Regions from separate parts of the Homo sapiens genome. Here regions 1, 2, 3, 4 and 6 are each linked to region 5. The links are contacts of gene promoters, found by promoter capture Hi-C in blood cells and fetal thymus (Javierre and others, 2016). All regions are on one chromosome and are shown on one strand. Each heading gives the region's core, a stretch centred on a gene start or on the middle of the fragment in contact. The rest is flanking DNA. Distances are from core to core; before and after follow the strand shown.

Evidence for each region. The method cuts DNA at HindIII sites, captures the fragments that hold promoters and counts their contacts. A CHiCAGO score of 5 or more calls a contact.
Region 1: a contact is called between a fragment that was not itself captured here and the fragment with the promoter of SPRY1 in region 5, in 6 of 17 cell types (naive B cells, M0 macrophages, total B cells and 3 more). The highest score is 9.7, in naive B cells.
Region 2: a fragment that was not itself captured here is called in contact with the fragment with the promoter of SPRY1 in region 5 in 6 of 17 cell types (M0 macrophages, total B cells, naive B cells and 3 more); the score reaches 7.9 in M0 macrophages.
Region 3: a fragment that was not itself captured here is called in contact with the fragment with the promoter of SPRY1 in region 5 in 8 of 17 cell types (megakaryocytes, total B cells, naive B cells and 5 more); the score reaches 9.1 in megakaryocytes.
Region 4: a contact is called between a fragment that was not itself captured here and the fragment with the promoter of SPRY1 in region 5, in 4 of 17 cell types (naive B cells, M0 macrophages, M2 macrophages and 1 more). The highest score is 6.9, in naive B cells.
Region 6: a contact is called between a fragment that was not itself captured here and the fragment with the promoter of SPRY1 in region 5, in 8 of 17 cell types (M2 macrophages, megakaryocytes, naive B cells and 5 more). The highest score is 9.0, in M2 macrophages.

The regions. Positions count from the first base shown.
Region 1 is chr4:123,576,111-123,578,876 of GRCh38, reverse strand. No RefSeq gene overlaps it. Among named protein-coding and RNA genes, the nearest start is that of LINC02435, 56 kb to the right of the region's middle. The HindIII fragment of the contact is 1,977 bases long and covers 381-2,357 here.
Region 2 is chr4:123,550,473-123,553,172 of GRCh38, reverse strand. No RefSeq gene overlaps it. Among named protein-coding and RNA genes, the nearest start is that of LINC02435, 30 kb to the right of the region's middle. The HindIII fragment of the contact is 532 bases long and covers 1,081-1,612 here.
Region 3 is chr4:123,599,987-123,602,686 of GRCh38, reverse strand. No RefSeq gene overlaps it. Among named protein-coding and RNA genes, the nearest start is that of LINC01091, 49 kb to the left of the region's middle. RefSeq lists enhancers at 1,746-2,391, 2,359-2,653. The HindIII fragment of the contact is 1,818 bases long and covers 431-2,248 here.
Region 4 is chr4:123,533,587-123,536,286 of GRCh38, reverse strand. LOC105377405 (a long non-coding RNA gene) reads left to right here. Exons shown (of 4, transcript XR_939171.3): 4 at 2,429-2,700. Among named protein-coding and RNA genes, the nearest start is that of LINC02435, 13 kb to the right of the region's middle. The HindIII fragment of the contact is 3,042 bases long and covers 1-2,700 here.
Region 5 is chr4:123,395,448-123,398,191 of GRCh38, reverse strand. It overlaps SPRY1 (sprouty RTK signaling antagonist 1), which reads right to left and starts at 1,397. Exons shown (of 3, transcript NM_001258038.2): 1 at 1,260-1,397; 2 at 336-581. The HindIII fragment of the contact is 9,971 bases long and covers 1-2,744 here.
Region 6 is chr4:123,626,799-123,629,636 of GRCh38, reverse strand. No RefSeq gene overlaps it. Among named protein-coding and RNA genes, the nearest start is that of LINC01091, 22 kb to the left of the region's middle. The HindIII fragment of the contact is 3,329 bases long and covers 1-2,838 here.

The DNA.
Region 1 (2,766 bases), core at 120-2,619, 180 kb before region 5:
ATGTACAGTTCTCATCACATAAGCTCAATCTAAATGGTGCCAAAACAATCCATCATTTTGTTTTAGTTGGTATTTTAATGCAAAACAGGTCTCCTGAAAAATCTATCCAAAAGTCGTATTTTCCAGACCTTTGACAGAGACTTCTTAATTGTTTCATTTTGTTTTTATTTCTTTTGAAACCTTGGTAAAGCAATTGCAAGCACATATTATCTTGTATCTTTTATCTTCACAAGGGCTTTAAAAAATTTAAAATTTCTTGGCTTTATAAAATGTGAGCAAAGAATCCATAAGCAAGAAAAAGTAAAGTTAGATTTTAAACCATCTATTACTCAAAGAGAAGTTGCCATATATTGCCCAAGACAGATTTATTTTCCAAAGCTTTCATTGGCTCCAATCATTTAAAAGTATGCTAGCACTGAGTGGTTGACTCAATACATGAAGTACTACAAGCTCACAAAAGAAACCCTCAAACAGAGGCTACATGCAAAGGGCTATCCTCTGAGGTTAACTAACCAAAATCCACAGAAGATGGTTGGAATTAACCATCAACTGCTGAGCCACTCAACTGCTGAGGAGGCAAAGAGAGTCCCAGCAAGAACTACTGTGATTTTTATGTCCATAAAACTTCCCAATAATGACAATATAACAACCACTGCCCTCCTCATAAATGAGTTTTTCTTTTTTTCTCTCTCTCTGTGTTTCTCTGTCTCTCTCACTCTCATTGTAGCTGCTACAGGCAAAAGATTTAAAGGTGCTAGTTTACAAGACAATTTTCCAATAGCAATCCGTTATGCAGTGTGATTTGGAAATAATTTGCCACCAACGTGAAGAGTTTTGTCTATATTATCAAGAAAAAGGCCACCTAAAACGAGACAATCTACCCAGTGCTTACTGTGTATAGTGCCTTACAAAGAAGATCAGACAAGACAAGGCAAAGAAGTCGACCTGTGTTGAGCACTTGGTACCAGGTATTCAGCCAAAAATGCTTTCACTAATTAGAAGAGTTTTGTCTATATTATCAAGAAACAGGCCACCTAAAATGAGACAATCTACCCAGTGCTTACTGTGTATAGTGCCTTACAAAGAAGATCAGACAAGACAAGGCAAAGAAGTCAACCTGTGTTGAGCACCTGGTACCAGGTATTCAGCCAAAAATGCTTTCACTTCTACCGTAATTACTCAATCCCCAGGAAACCTTGAGTTAGTTATTCATCTGTTTACAGATTAAGAAACAGGGTCAGAGTAATTAAGCAATTCTCCCAGATCACACACATGCACACAGATTATGGTCAAATTAAGCCACAATTTGAACCCAGGACTCTCTACCCCAAAGCCCATACCTCTTCCAGTACACTGTGACTGCCTGAGACACCGCTCTTGCCTTCAGGGAATTTACTGCTTGCTACATCTGCATTTTTAGAGAAGCGTAACATATAAAGCACGTTGAAATGAAATCATTTGGTGCTATAATGATGTAAGCAGATGAACCTTAAGTATAGAAGAGAGAGGATGAACCTTAAATATAAGAGAGAGAGAAAAAAGAGAAAAGAAATGTAGTCGTGTTTTGCTGACACTGTCAATGAAAGGAACCCTCTTATACCTCCCTTGGGGCTAATTAAAACAGATTGCCTGTTTGGAAAGTATTTCTTTTTAGTGGAGAAAAATGATTCCAGAGAATAGCACAAATAAAAGAAAATATACTTTTAAGACCATCTATTGAAACTTACTCAAATCATATTTACTATAGTTCTATTCTAAGTCAGTTCCTCAAATAGAAATGCCCTAGCCAGCTAACCCAAACATTGCATTCATAAAGAGGTAGATTTTGCATAGTAAATTCATACATTGGCTTTTCTTAAAGTAACATTTAGTCTCTTAAAAAATATTTAAGATTCATATGCCCCTGTCCCATTATCTCTGGAGGAAATAATAAAACCAAATATCCGTATCTGCCCAATGATGACCTTCACCAAAGCACAGCACAGACTCAAAACTGCAGCTTTGCTGCTGCAAAGCACAGAAGTCTAAGCACCACCACCAGACAGAAGGCCAGCCTCAACTTCCTTGCTTCCCTTGGCATTGTCAAGGTACCCTGTGGAATCTAATGCTCTTTCTGTTTGCAGGGCCACATTCATGCACAAAGGGACAAAAATCACCTTCTAACAAACATCCTAAGAAACCTGAGGAGTGTGTATGACTTAAAACACTCTCGGTGAGGGAGTAAATGCTAGGAGACTTTGGATTGTGATCTAAATCAGGATACTCTAATTTTCTTGTCCAATAGAGTGCATTTTCTCATCCCCTTATAACAATGTTACTTAACTGTATTCACTCTTAATTTCACACTCAAGGAAGCTTGGATCCATTAATGACAAGGACAGCTGCTAAATGTATTTTAAATTATAACATATCTTCAAATGGTTAACTATGGGCTATTTCATATGATTCAACCTCCACATTTCATATGGCTAATAGCCAATAGTTAACCATTTTTTAACATATGAAAATAGCAATTTCATATGTATCAAGCTAATAAACAAACAATTCCAAGGTTTTCTGGTATATTCAGATGTCTTTAAGCAGGACTCTTTCTCTCTTTAGGGGTTTCGATGTTTTCCTGAAAGATGTCTACAGGTTCCTTCCCAACCCTATGTCTATACGTCCCATGTCAATCCTGTAATTGCCTTGGGAAGTTTTGTGTCGGAGAAACTATAAAGCAGAAAAATGCAGCCTTCTTTCAGTGGATAACTCCAAATCCATAAGAAA
Region 2 (2,700 bases), core at 97-2,596, 160 kb before region 5:
TACTCTGAAATTCAGATGAATCCAAGCTCCTTTCAGGAAAGAAGCTTCATTCAAGTAATTTAGGTGGTTGGCTGCCGAAGCCACACAACCAAATCATCATGATCTACATAGATCTAAAACCACCCTATGTACACTACTAACAACAGGTTATTCATTTGTAATCATCTACTTCTTCAATTTCTTACTTACATTACTGACCCAAAACATGAACTTCTGTTCTAAGACACAGAGAAACAGAAAGCTAGAAGAGCTCAGGTTGCAAAGAAGGCCTCCATTTCATTTCAGCAATCCAAGGAGCCACTGAACTTCAGTTGTGTCAAATCACATGGAAAACTAGAACCATGTGGGTGATGACTAGCTACAAGTGAGGGGAAAATTCAGAATGCTTCCAAGTCAAACTTTCCAATTCCCATCTCCACTCGTGGGGGACCATAGCCATCCTTCTGATAACAATAGGGGGAAAAACTGCATTTATAAGGCAACTTAAAACCTTATAGAGAAGGCAATACTAAGATCCTCAGAATAAAAGGAAAAGGGATGAAAATTTGGAGAAAAAAAATGTCTAGGAGATGCAGCATGTGACTAACAGGATTCCCAGAAAGAGAGAAAAGACGATATCATGGAAGAAATTATCAAAGAAATAATGTGAGAAAATTCCCCATCAGGCCAGGCACACTGGCTCATGCCTGTAATCCCAGCACTCTGGGAGGCCGAGGCAGGCGGATCACCTGAGGTCAGAAGTTCGAGACCAGCCTGGCCAACATGGTAAAACCCTGTCTCTACGAAAAATACAAAAATTTGCTGGATATGGTGGCACACGCCTATAATCCCAGCTACTTGGGAGGCTGAGGCAGAATTGCTTGAACCCAGGAGGCAGAAGTTGCAGTGAGCCGAGATCACACCATTGCACTCCAGCCTGGGTGACAGAGCAAGACTCTGTCTCAAAAAAAAAAAAAAAAAAAAAGAAAGTTCCCCATACCTAAGAAATATGAGTGAGGGTCCATTAGGTGGAAAGTATAATGAATAATAAAAGATTTACAGCAAAGCACTTCCATGTCAAATTGAGATGGTCCTGAAGCTTCTGAAAGAGAAAAAAGGCCACAAATAAAGGACAAGTAGTCAGATTGCTATCCCACCCCTCAGCAGCAATACCTGGAGCCATCAGGCAAGTGAACAACATCAGGCAAGCAAAATTTGAATGCCTTCAAAAATCTGAAGGAAAAGGCTATTCCAACCTACATTGGATCTATAGTGTTAGTATCTAGGATCTATAGTGTTATTATCTAGGCATACTAGTAACTAACACTATACATTACACACAGACTGGGCAGAGACTACTCTCTCTTCTCTTGCTGAACATGTCTTTTTTGAGGCCTTTCCTTGGCATTATCTGACCCAGATTTTCTCACTTAAGGAGCTGCTTTTACCTAGGCAAGATACACTAGAAGATTTCTCCATAATGCCCCATGTTCATGGACTTAAAGTCTGCTGCCAGAGCTCAAGAGCCCTTGCCTTAATTCTTAGTCTCTTGACCACCATTACTATTAACCTTGCTATGTGTCCCCAAGCCCCATCCAATTTCACCCTCACTTCCATATTTCCATTATAAGCTTTTCTCCTGGACCTAGGGATGCTGACTATGACTCTCTACTTACATCCCTCTTTAATACATGGGGCAGCCCTCACTTAGTCTGTTGCACTCAAACAATGGGTCCGAGACAGGAAAGATCAAGTGGAGCCAGGTTGAGGCTCAGAGCAAAAAGGAAATAAGGGATGCTACTAAGAAATGCCTCTGGACTACAATTGAAGAGCTTTCTGCTTTGTTCACATTTGAGCTCATTGGGGTGGAAGAACACATAGGTATTCTGGGCAAAAGTCCTTTTAAGAAATAGGCATTTTCCTGGAACATCATCTTTGTCATGACTCTCAGGATCCTTAAGCCCAATGGTGGGAAAGAAGTTCTCTGGAGTTTGGGTCCAGCAGAGAAGAGAAAAGGTAAACCTATTGCCTTACTCCATTATGATTAACAGAGTCCCCTAAGTAACAACTTATGAAGCCCAATAAAGCATCTGAGACATTAAGATTAAAAAAAGGTCAACTTTATATTTACTTAGAAATGTACAATACAAATTTCCCCAAGCTCCAGTCCTGGTGCAAATAAACTGCAGTTTGTTGGACAAACTCAACATGTCCAAAACCTAATTCATTACCTTCTTCCCTAAAACTCCAACGTCCTTACTTTAGTCAATGGCATCACCAGCATCCTCTTCACATGGTTCCCAAGCTAGATGTGATTTTTGTATCCTCCCACTCCCTCACGCCAGCTGGCAAATCCCATCACACCTGGAGAATCCTGTCGGCCCTCCTCTGCATTGGCTTTCCCTTCTGTAACCTACCCATGTTCCCATGGTCACTCCATTTCAGGCCCTCATTCCCTCCAGGTAGACCATAGTTTTCCATCTACTGCCACTGAAGAAATGAATCCAAAGCTGAGTTCCAGTCATTTCTCACCTGTATGGGAGACCCCAGAACAGAACTCTTACTTTCAACTGAGTCACACTGCTGCTCATAATAAAGTCTATATTGGCCAGGCGTGGTGGCTCATAATCCCGGCACTTTGGGAGGCCGAGGCGGGTGGATCACCTGAGGTCAGGAGTTCTAGACCAGGCTGGCCAACATGGTGAAACCTCGTCTCTACTA
Region 3 (2,700 bases), core at 90-2,589, 200 kb before region 5:
TCTCAGACCTTCATAAAATGGAAGCGAGTTAGAATCTTGCTCTGGGGCTTTGGCTTGTGGGAATGCTGTGGCTGGTTTGATCTTTTATCCAGACCACTTAAACTTTCTCCATATCAACATAAGGCTGTTGCACTTTCTTTTCCTTTCTTTTCTTTTTAAATAGAGACAGGGTCTCACTATGTTGCCCAGGCTGGTCTCAAACTCCCAGGCTCAAGTGATCCTCCTGCCTTGGCCTCCCAAAGTGCTGGGATTAGAAGAGTGAGCCACCATGCCCGGCCTCTGTTGTGCTATCTTATCATTAATGTGTTCATTGGAATAGTACTTTTAATTTCTTCAAGAACTTTTCCTTTGCACTCACAACTTGGCTGTTTGGCACAAGAGGCCTACCTTTTGGCCTATCTTGACTTTAACATGCCTTCCTCACTAAGCTTATTCATTTCTAAATTTGATTCAAAGTGAGAGACTTGCAACTCTTCCTTTCACTTGAACACTTAGAAGCCATTGAAGGGTTATTCGTTGGCCCCATTTCAATATCGTGTGTCTGACGGAATAGGGAGGCCCCAGAGAGACGAGAAAACCATTGGTATGTGGAGCAGTCAGAACACACCATCTTGTATGGGGGCAGTTCATGGTGCCCCCACCAAAATTACAATAGTGACATCAAAGATCATGATTACAGATCACTATAACAGATATAATAATAATTGCAGCAAACCACCATGGCACATGTATACCTATGTAACAAATCTGCACGTTCAGCACATGTATCCCAGAATTTAAAGTAAAATTTAAAAATATATATAATAATAATGAAAAAGTTTGAAATATTGTGAAAATTACCACAGTGTGACACAGAGACACTAAGTGGGCACATGCTGTTGGGAAGAATAGGGCTGATAGACTTGCTCAATGCAAGGTTGCCACAAACCTTCAGTTTGCAGAAAACGCAGCACCTGTGAAGCACAATAAAACAAGGTGTGTCTCTAAAGCTCTAACACAGATCCTGGCTTGGGTAGATGGTTAGTGAATTATATCAGCTTGATTCATTCATTCTACAATTCTGACAGAGCACTACTATCTACCAGTCAGTATCAGCTTTTCTGAAAGATTAGGGAAAGATCATTAACTTTTAGTGAGTGTTTTTTTCTTTTTTCACATCATAATGGTCCTCAAGATTCAGAATCAGCCGCAGTTGAAATTTAACAAGGACAGTGAACCGACTTCTTCTCCAAAGAGGCAGTTGTATAAAGAGCAGCATTGATAAAAGTCCTGACCGTCTCATTCTCCACAAGGATTTCTACATAGGTCTAATTTTCATTTTCACAATAAGCCTCAGTATTCACCACATGCAAGTATTTAACTTCGAAACCTCAAAATAATCAATCTCTATCATATTATTGTTCTTAAGCAGCCAGAAATCTCTTCAGAGACTTTATTAGAAATGTTGGTAATCCTTCAAAATGCCAATTGGCGTCTTTTTCAAACTGTTCTGTAACATCATCTCTATCATCATCCTCCACAGATACCTCCAGAAGGATTCTAGTCAATAAGTTACTTAAAGTGTTCACCACACATGTGGGATTAGATACAGATGAGTGGTTGTAATATATTTCAGAGGTCACTGTAAATGCAGAAAGGAAATAGCTGCATATTCTATTTCCTCAAGACAAAATTTGTTTATAGGAATTATTGATTAAAAACATTAAAACAATTTCTGTGTTCACAGAGTACCTTCCTTTCAGTGATTGCAGTCACCAATAAAATTTGTGGTTAAAATATGTCTTAAAATATGTACCACATTTAGATTTGAAATAAGCAGAGAAGGAAATGTTGAATTGTTTTGAGAGGAGAGAAAAAGAAAAAAAAAACAGTAAAACGGAAGCATAGATGGATTTCTTACCTTAACTGCCAAAAATGAGACTGAGTCTCAAAATCTTTTTCTTTCTATAATTTACCAAAGTGAAGGGAGTCAGAGAAATTAGGACTCAATTATCCAGATTCCTAAACAATGGGTCCTGCAGTCACCAGTTAATTGTTTAAGCCTCCACTTCCTTTTGTCTGTGTTTTCTGGGGTGGGAGGGAGGAAAAGAGAAAGGAAACACATAGAAAACAGATGTGGAAAGAAATATTTATCAACAAAAAGTCTTGGTAAACCACGATTTTTATATCGCCCTTGCACTATATTTTCCAAGTTTCCTAGTTTTCTCAAACCCCAAAGAATTTGTAGCTAGAGAGGAAAACCAAAGCTTTTTATATGTTTTCCACAGGATTAGGAAGGCATATTTGGAGAATTCTGATGCTTTTCCCTTAACCTAATATTAATACATGTTTTTGACTCAAGGAATTTCTGTCAGAGAATGGGAGAAATAAAAGGTTCATTTAGCTGGTTTGTTCTGTCCTTGGACTTCCAGGCAGAATAAACAGCACCTTGTGACAAAGGCGGGCCACACGCTGGCTGAGCTCCAGGCAGACACTGGGGGATGCAGTCTGTTTATCAGACAGCACATTGTCTTAACCAGGATGTGGTTGGCTTTTGTAACAAGAAGTATGCAAATAAGTTTCCCAGAGACCCAACACCCTGTTCCCCACCACACTTGTTCCTTCAGTAGACACATGCTAATGGTGGCTGCCCTGAGAACAGAAGAGAGAGCCACAGAAAGAGGAGAGGAAGAGGAAGTGTCCTGAATTAGCCAGATTAGC
Region 4 (2,700 bases), core at 184-2,683, 140 kb before region 5:
AGTAATATGGAGGAGACAAAATCAATAATGTGCAATACATTTAATCAACACGAAAACCTGATTCTATCAGGAGAACAGATTAAAGGAGTCTTGCTTAGACTCCAGGGTAATTGACAGTTTTTCTGCCTTATATGTGGAATGATTATAACAAGTTGTAATTCAGATAATGAACTTCTTAATGCAGGAAGTTCTTCATTCAGGAAATAGAAGTTGGTGAAATTGAAACAAATTTATTAAGTAAATAAAGGGAAAAGCACAAAATACTTAGTGGCTAGAGTATTATCAATTGTAAAGAAGATTTGGAATAGAACAGTTAGGGAGCTATAATTCTTCAGTTTTTATACTGTTCTACCACTCTAGTATGTTGCTATAATTCTCTGAATTAATTTTTTTAAAAATACAACAGCTGTCTGGAGAAACCAATTTGATCTCACTTTTATTTTATTTTTTAAATGCATTTGATTATGTATATTTGAGGTTTACAACATAGTGTTATGGGATACATATAGTAGTAAAATGGTTACTATAGTGAAGCAGACTAACATATCTATCATCTCACATAGTTACTTTTTTGTGACAAGAACAGCTAAAATCTACTTATTTAATAAAAATCTCCAATACAGTATAATTTTACTAACTTTATTACTCATGTTGTACATTGGCTCTCTAAACTGCTTTGTGCTGCTATTTTGATCGCTTGACCTACATTGCCCCCATTTCCTTTCCCTCCCACCCTGCTCCACATCCCCACCCCCATCCCACCCATGGTAACCACTGTTTTGTTCTCTGTATCTGTGTATTTGAGCTCTTTTTAAATATGTATATATTCTACATAAAGGTGAGATTATATAATATTTTTCTTTCTGTGTCTGGTTTCTTTCACTTAGCATAATGTCCTCCAGGTCATATTGTGGTAAATGGCAGAATCTCCTTTTTAAGGTTGAATAATATTCATATATATATATATACCATGTTTTCATTATCTGTTTATCCACTGATGAACATTTAGGTTGTTTCCATATCTTAGCTATTGTGAATAATGCTGCAATGAATGTGAGAGAGCAGATATCTTTACAAGGTAGTGACTTCATCTTCTTTGGGTGTATACCCAGAAGAGGGATTGCTGGGCCATATAATAATTCTATTTTTAATATCTTTAGGAACTTCCACACTGTTTTGCATAAGGGCTGTACCAGTCTACATTCCCACTAATAGTGTACTAGGGTTCCCATTTCTCTACCTCCTTGCCAACATTTGTTATGTCTTGTCTTTTTTATAATAACCATCCTTACAGGTGTGAGGTTGATATCACATAGCAGTTTTAATTTGCATTTCCCTGATGATTAGTAATATTGAACATGTTTTCATATTCCTCTTGGCCATTTTTATGTCTCTTTAGAGAAATGTCTGTTCAGGTCCTTTGCTTATGTTTTAATTGGGTTGTTTTTCTGCTATTGAGTTATAAGAGTGCTTTACAAATTTCTGATATTAACCCCTTATCAGATATGTGGTTTGCAATTGTTTTCCTAGTCCATAGATTGCCTTTTCATTTTATCAATTGTTTCCTTTGCTGTGCAAAAGATTTTTGGTTTGATGTAGTACCATTTATTTATTTTTGTTATTGTTGCCTGAGCTTTTGGTGTGATATCCAAAAATTCATTGCCAATACCAATGTTCAGGAGTTTTTCCCCTGTGTTTTCTTTCAGGAGTTTAATGGTTTCAGGTCTTAAATTTAGGTCTTTTATTCAGTTTGAATTTATTTTCATGTATGGTGTAAGATAAGGGTCCAATTTCACACTTTTGATGTAAAAAATCCAGTTTTACCAGCACTGTTTATTGAAGAAATTATTCTTTCCCCATTATGTCCTTTCTGTGCTCTTGTCAAAAGTCAGTTGATCACATGTGCTTAGGTTTATTTCTGTGCTCTCTATTCTGTTCCATTGGTCTATATTTCTGTTTTTATGCCAGTACCATACTGTTTTGATTACTATAGCTTTCTAATATAATTTTGATTCAGAAACTGTGATGCCTTCAACTTTATTTTTCTTTCTCAGCATTTCTTTTACTAGTCAGAGTTTTTTGTGATTCCATGTGAATTTTAGTATTTTTTTCTATTTCTGTGAAAAATGCCATTAGACTTTTGATGGGAATTGTGTTAAATCTGTATATTGCTATAGGTAATAAGGACATTTTAACAGATTAATTTTTCCCACCCATGAACACAGGATAATTTTCCATTTATTTGTGTCTTCTTCCATCTCTTTCATCATGGTTTTATAGTTTTCAGTATACAAGTCTTTCACTCCCTTGGTTAAATATATTCTTAGATGTTTAATTTTTTGCTATTATAAATATGATTGTTTTCTTAATTACTTTTTTGGTTAGGTCATTATTTGTGTATAAAAATGCTACTGATTTTTTTTTTCAGGTGGAGTCTTGCTGCATCACCAAGGCTGGAGTGCACTGGCACAATCTCGGCTCACTGCAACCTCCTCCTCCCAGGTTCAAACAATTCTGTCTCAGCCTCCCAAGTAGCTGGGACTACAGGTGCCTGCCACCACGCCTGGCTGATTTTTGTATTTTTAGTAGAGACAGGGTTTCACCTTGTTGGTCAGGCTGGTCTCAAACTCCTAACCTCAAGTGATCCACCCGCGTCGGCCTCCCAAAGTGCTGAGATTACAGGCGTGAGCCACCGTGCCC
Region 5 (2,744 bases), core at 148-2,647:
TTTACAAATCCTTTCAGGAAGGCTTCCCAAGTCTCAGAAAAACAAGTAGGGGAGTGGCGGAGTCGAGTGCGTGACGGGCCAGCTGACGGCACGGTGTGCTCAGAGAACTCGGGTTCTAGTCGCTCCTCGCAAGGAACGAAGGAAGGGATGGCGGCTTCCTGACGAGCGAAAAATCCACGTCACGGGCGTTCGAGACTCCGCAGCGCCCGGGTCGGGGCCCGAACCGCCGTCGGCGGGTGGGTCACGGAGCCGCGCAGTACCCCGGCGAAACCTCGGAGCACGCGCCTGCCAGGCAGAGGCTGCCGCGGCCGGGAGGGGGAGGGGGATTTTTTTACCCTTTTCTTTTTTTTTTTTTTTTTAGCGGGGAGGAGTGAAGAGAGTGAGGTTTGGGGATCCTTCTCGGAGAGAGAAAGGCGGGCGTCGTCCCTTGTGCCCCGCGCAGGCCGACGCGCTTAGCCGATTCCGCACGTTGGGCAAGTGGGGGCACAGCGTCCCCGGGCACTCCGGTCCCGGCAGGTCAGCCTCTCCCGGGCAGCGCTCACACCCAGTCCTCCGAGCCTGGGGTTCCACGGCCGAAATGCCTGCGACAGAGAATTAGAGATAGAAGCTCGTGAATGTCCCTTTCTTCGAAGGGCTGGGACCCCGGGCGGGCCGCTGGCCAGCTCGCCCGCAGCCCGTTGCCATGTGCTCCCTGTTGCTGCTCCCGGTGATTGACAGGCCGGCGCACAGTCGGCGTGTCAGCCGCGAACCAAAGTAACATGCAGTCCTGCACGTTTTTGCCGAGGTGCTTTTGCCCCCTGGAATGCCTAGGAGTTCAAACAACGTTCAAGCAACGCCTCTGCGCGTTAGGAATCAATACACAGAGACGGGAAATTCAGGTTTTAAACCAATGCTTCACTCGGGATTCGGTCGCCAACAATGCCTAAACAAACACGCATTTGGTCCACACACCGAGTGCTAGCCCCTCTTCGCATAAAGGCATTAACGGCTCTGTGTTTCACAAATTCGATCGTTTCAGACTTTAAACGTCTACTGTTCGGTTAAGGAAAGGTGAAAGGGACCCTGCTTTTTCTTTTAGCGGTAGCATTTACTTTAAGAGCATTAGTTTTAGCAGTGGGAATGCTACCGGTGTTTTGAAATGCAACCAGTAACCTTAGCTGGAAAGCAAGTTCAAATAAATAAATGTTCAGTTCCTTGCAAAAGTCAACATTTCTCACCTTATCTTTCCTAAAATGTCTACGGAAGGAAACGGTACTTACCTAATGCAAAGATTGCAAATTGCTTTTCAGGCACATTTAACAGCGACTGTAGCTGTTCCTTATCCAGGGCAGGGAACTGTGCTGATAATCACTCTGCAAAGCACGCAGTGGTTTGCAGAGCGGTCTCACTCCGGCTACGCAGAATTTCAGCTCCTTGCCTCCACCTCCACCTCCACTCCAGGACACGCCTCCGGTGATATCATGTGTCAATCACTCGGGCTGCCCGAAAACCTGGAACAGGATTTCCTTAACTATCGTTTCCTCTTTCGTTTATGTGTACCAACTTGGAAATGTTGCCCTACAGACTCGTGTAATAAACATCCTCTTAAAACTTCGGGAGTGCCTCTAAAAATTCTGCAAATGCAGTTTGTCATAGAGGAATACATTCGGATTTAGTTAGCAATCTTCAGTTGTCGATCTCAATTAAAAGGATTGGTGGACTCTACTCTTAAGTTGAATTAGAAAAGAATTGTGAAGAATAAAAGAAAATGAAAAAAGTTGTATGCCAAGCCATCACTTCTGACCAACTAGAGGGAAAACGTATATTGACACAAAAAGATGATTATATAACATTACAGTTCCTATTTACAACAAAGTTCAGAATATGTGAAACCTAAAGTTCAAAAGGTGGCACTCCTTACTGCAAATGTAATATAAGCATATGTAATAAAGGTGAAATTTTCTGCTGTGGGTTTTTTAAATAATTGCTTTACCTTGGCTTGTTATATGATTTCCCAAAAATCAAGCACATGGAGAAAAAACCAAATTCTTTCAATTTTGTAATATAGTTGTATAATTTTGCAAAAAATACAAACCCGTATATTTTTTAATTAGCTAAAAGTCAATTAATTAGAATAGAAAAAATTTATCAAGAAGTTTTATAATTCTTAGTAATAGCTGATATGACTGGAAAAAAAACACTTTAAGTAGGAAACTTGATTTCTACTTTCTTACAAACTATGGGATTTTAGGCATTTATTATCAAAGTTGTGCCTTTTCATGCTGCAGTGAGGATAACTTTTTGTGGAATTGAAGGTTCCGTAGAAACTTTTAAAAGCCACCTAAAGACCAAAAACTTAGTGGAAAGGAAATATTTTTCCAGGTACTATATATCAGGAGTAGCTTAAAGTCTGGCAAAACAAAGCAAACAATAACAAAACTCTAGAATCTAAATCATATAAACATATAAGTATGGAAATTTTTAGTTCAAAGTACATTTTTAGTCTCATTTACAATAGCAAGTGGTTCTGTTGAAACTATAAATATATACATACATAACACACACGCACACACACAGGACTTTCAAATGTCTGAGCACTTTCAAAAATTAAAGTTGTGTTTGGAATTGCCTCTGAAGAACACAGAGCATTGTTAAGAACATGAATAACAATAAAAAAGCATCATTAGAAAATAGCATAGAATAAGAATCAAGCCAAAAAGCTACATATTCACTCTTAATATTATGAATTGTATTAAAATAGGCTA
Region 6 (2,838 bases), core at 6-2,505, 230 kb before region 5:
ATTTAACTTTTTAAAAAGTGAGATCTGTGGTTTGATATATGGAATTATTCTTAATAGACCCCCAAACGTTTATTGCCAAGACCCAAATCTATTTCGCCAGAACCCTGCCCCTTTTTCAGAGGCATATGAATAGAATAGGATAAGGATATTCACATATTTGCAAATTTAACGTCATATAAAGATAAATATAATGCAATGTGAAAAGAAAGGGGATGTTTATATTACCTTAGAACTCAAAACAAATTCTTCCTTCTGACCTTAGTGGTAATATTTAATGATAAAAATAACATCATTTAAATAATGTTTAATATAGCCAGGCATTGTTTTAAGCACTTTATTTATGGTAACTCATCTAACTCTCACAGCCCTTTGTGGTATGAAATATTGCTGTCTCTATATTAAAGCTGGCAAAACTAAGACACAGAGAAGTTAAGTAACTTGTCTAAGATCACACAGCCAGCAAGTAGTGAAGCCAAGATTTAAACCCAGAATTTCTGCTCCAGAGTCCATGCTTTTAGGCACTATGCCACACTCAGGTAATAGTTCCAATGACTTCATTCACTCACAAGTTGAGAATCAAATATCTGTTTCTCACTGCCATGTGCACCCCTCCTCATGCAGGCCAGGGAGCCATGGACTTTCTATCACCTCATTAAAACAAAAGTAGCTGGGTGCAGTGTCCCATATCTGTAATCCCAGCACAATGGGAGGCTGAGGCAGGATAACAGCTTGAGCCCAGGAGTTCAAGACCAGCCTGGGCAACATGGTGAAACTCTGTCTTCACAAAAAATACAAAAAAATTAGCTGGGCATGGTGGTGTGTGCCTGTAGTTCCAGCTACTCAAGAGGCTGAGGTGGGAGGATCGCTTGAGCCCAGGAGGTCAAGACTGCAGTGAGCTGAAATCATGCCACTGCACTCCAGCCCATGCAACAGAATGAGACAAAAAAAAGTAGTTGAGCCAAAGAGAGGCATGTTAGCCGCCATTATTGCTATTACTATATTATTATATTATATTATCACTTACATCTGAGCCAAATTCCCACTCAGTCCTTGGTAACTAAACCTCCCCTCCATGAATAATGAATCATTCTCATAGTCTCACACTCAGTGGGCTTCAGTTACCTTTGAAGACAGATCAGTTCAGGTGATGCAATATTGGTTTGTAGGGAAGCAAACTAATGATTTCTAACCTAGTCATGCAACAGATGCTTTACATGTGGTGCTTTTAAAAGAACAAGTAAGGGTCTTCTTTCTGCTAAGTTAGTTTTTTGAATACTTGAAGTTCAGTCTTTTAAAGAGAACCATTTTGGGGATAGGGAAGGGGACATATTTCTAACTGATAATAAACAGAACACTGTCCTGTTAGAGTATGTGGAGAATAGTAGAATCTTATTTTACTGTTGAGGTCATTTTAAGACAGCAATCATAGCACCTTGCTACTTCTTGGATCAGAGAGACATGTAGAGTTTTTTGGCCCTGTATATATGGTCTTAGGTAGCTGTGCTTTTTGAGTTCCCACACTTATCTTTTTAATGATAGTCTTCTGGTGTCCTCAATGGAGTTCATCAGTTGTCACATCTGTTGACGTTCTTAATGCCCTTTGTCTAGCAATCATCCCTCTCCTAATTTGTGGCTTCTAATTTGCTACAGTTTGGAAAACCACTCATGCCATAAGTATGAATCTATAAATGTACTTATGCATAAATTTACAAATGCATATACACTTATCCCTTTCCACAAAGGATGTATGGCAGCTTTTTAAAATTATGCAATTACAAAAAATAATTTTTGAAGGAATTTGAACAAAAGGAAAATAAGAATATATTAAAGAATAAGAAAAATAATAAAGCCAAGGTAGGTAACACACGCAGACTGCATGCTCTGTACCTCTCTGTAATTGCTAGTGCTAGGTAGCAAACAGCTCTGGATTTCCTGGAAGCCAAAGCAAAGATAAAAAGGCAATCCATTAGTTACAGGTTCACAATGCTCAGAAAATAAAAACAAACCAGCTATTCAGAAAAAGTACTACCACTCTTAACATTAAGACCTAAGAGAATTTTTTCATCATATTCATAAAGAAGGGTAATATAGGATAGAATAATGTCTTCAATGGCATTCTGACAATAGCTAATGTGATACATTCCAAATAGTGCTTGTTATGAAATCGCTTTAATATAAGCCAAAAGCAAAAACCCAAGCAAATAACATCTTTAAAAAGCAAGCATAGTAAGGAACTAAGAGACTTTTAGTAAGTAAAATGCACAAACTTCACTATATGGGCTGTGTAGTCACTATTTTCCTTGATGGAAGGCTGTTGGCATATACTTCCTAATTGGTGGCCATATTCCAGATATGTAGGTTTATAAACATGTATACATATTTTATGGATAAGTCTATTTCTTTTAGTTACTATCCATTTAGAAAACATTAAATACTCCTAGCCACTAGATTTAGTTAGTCCTCAATTCCAGTCTCGTTGCTATCTTCATTTTATGAGAAGGGACAAAGAAGTTATCATTTGAACTCTTGTTATAATCGTCAGATTCCAAACCTTCAATAAAAAGATGACTGCCAGTTTACAAAGAGAATTTCTAAATTCGTAAATTAGTGAAGTGAATTGAAGAGAAGACATACTCTCATTCACACGGTAACTAGGAGATATTCTTTCATTGTGAGCCCTTCTCTGAAGTGAATTTAATCAAAGTTTATTCAATGAATTTCAAAGCAAATCCACCAGCCCACTTTACCTTCCATTTAGGTCCCTAACAACGGGATTTGAGGACTGCTCTTTACTTTAATTCTTTACTTGTGCGGTACCTACTGTATGTAGAGAATGTT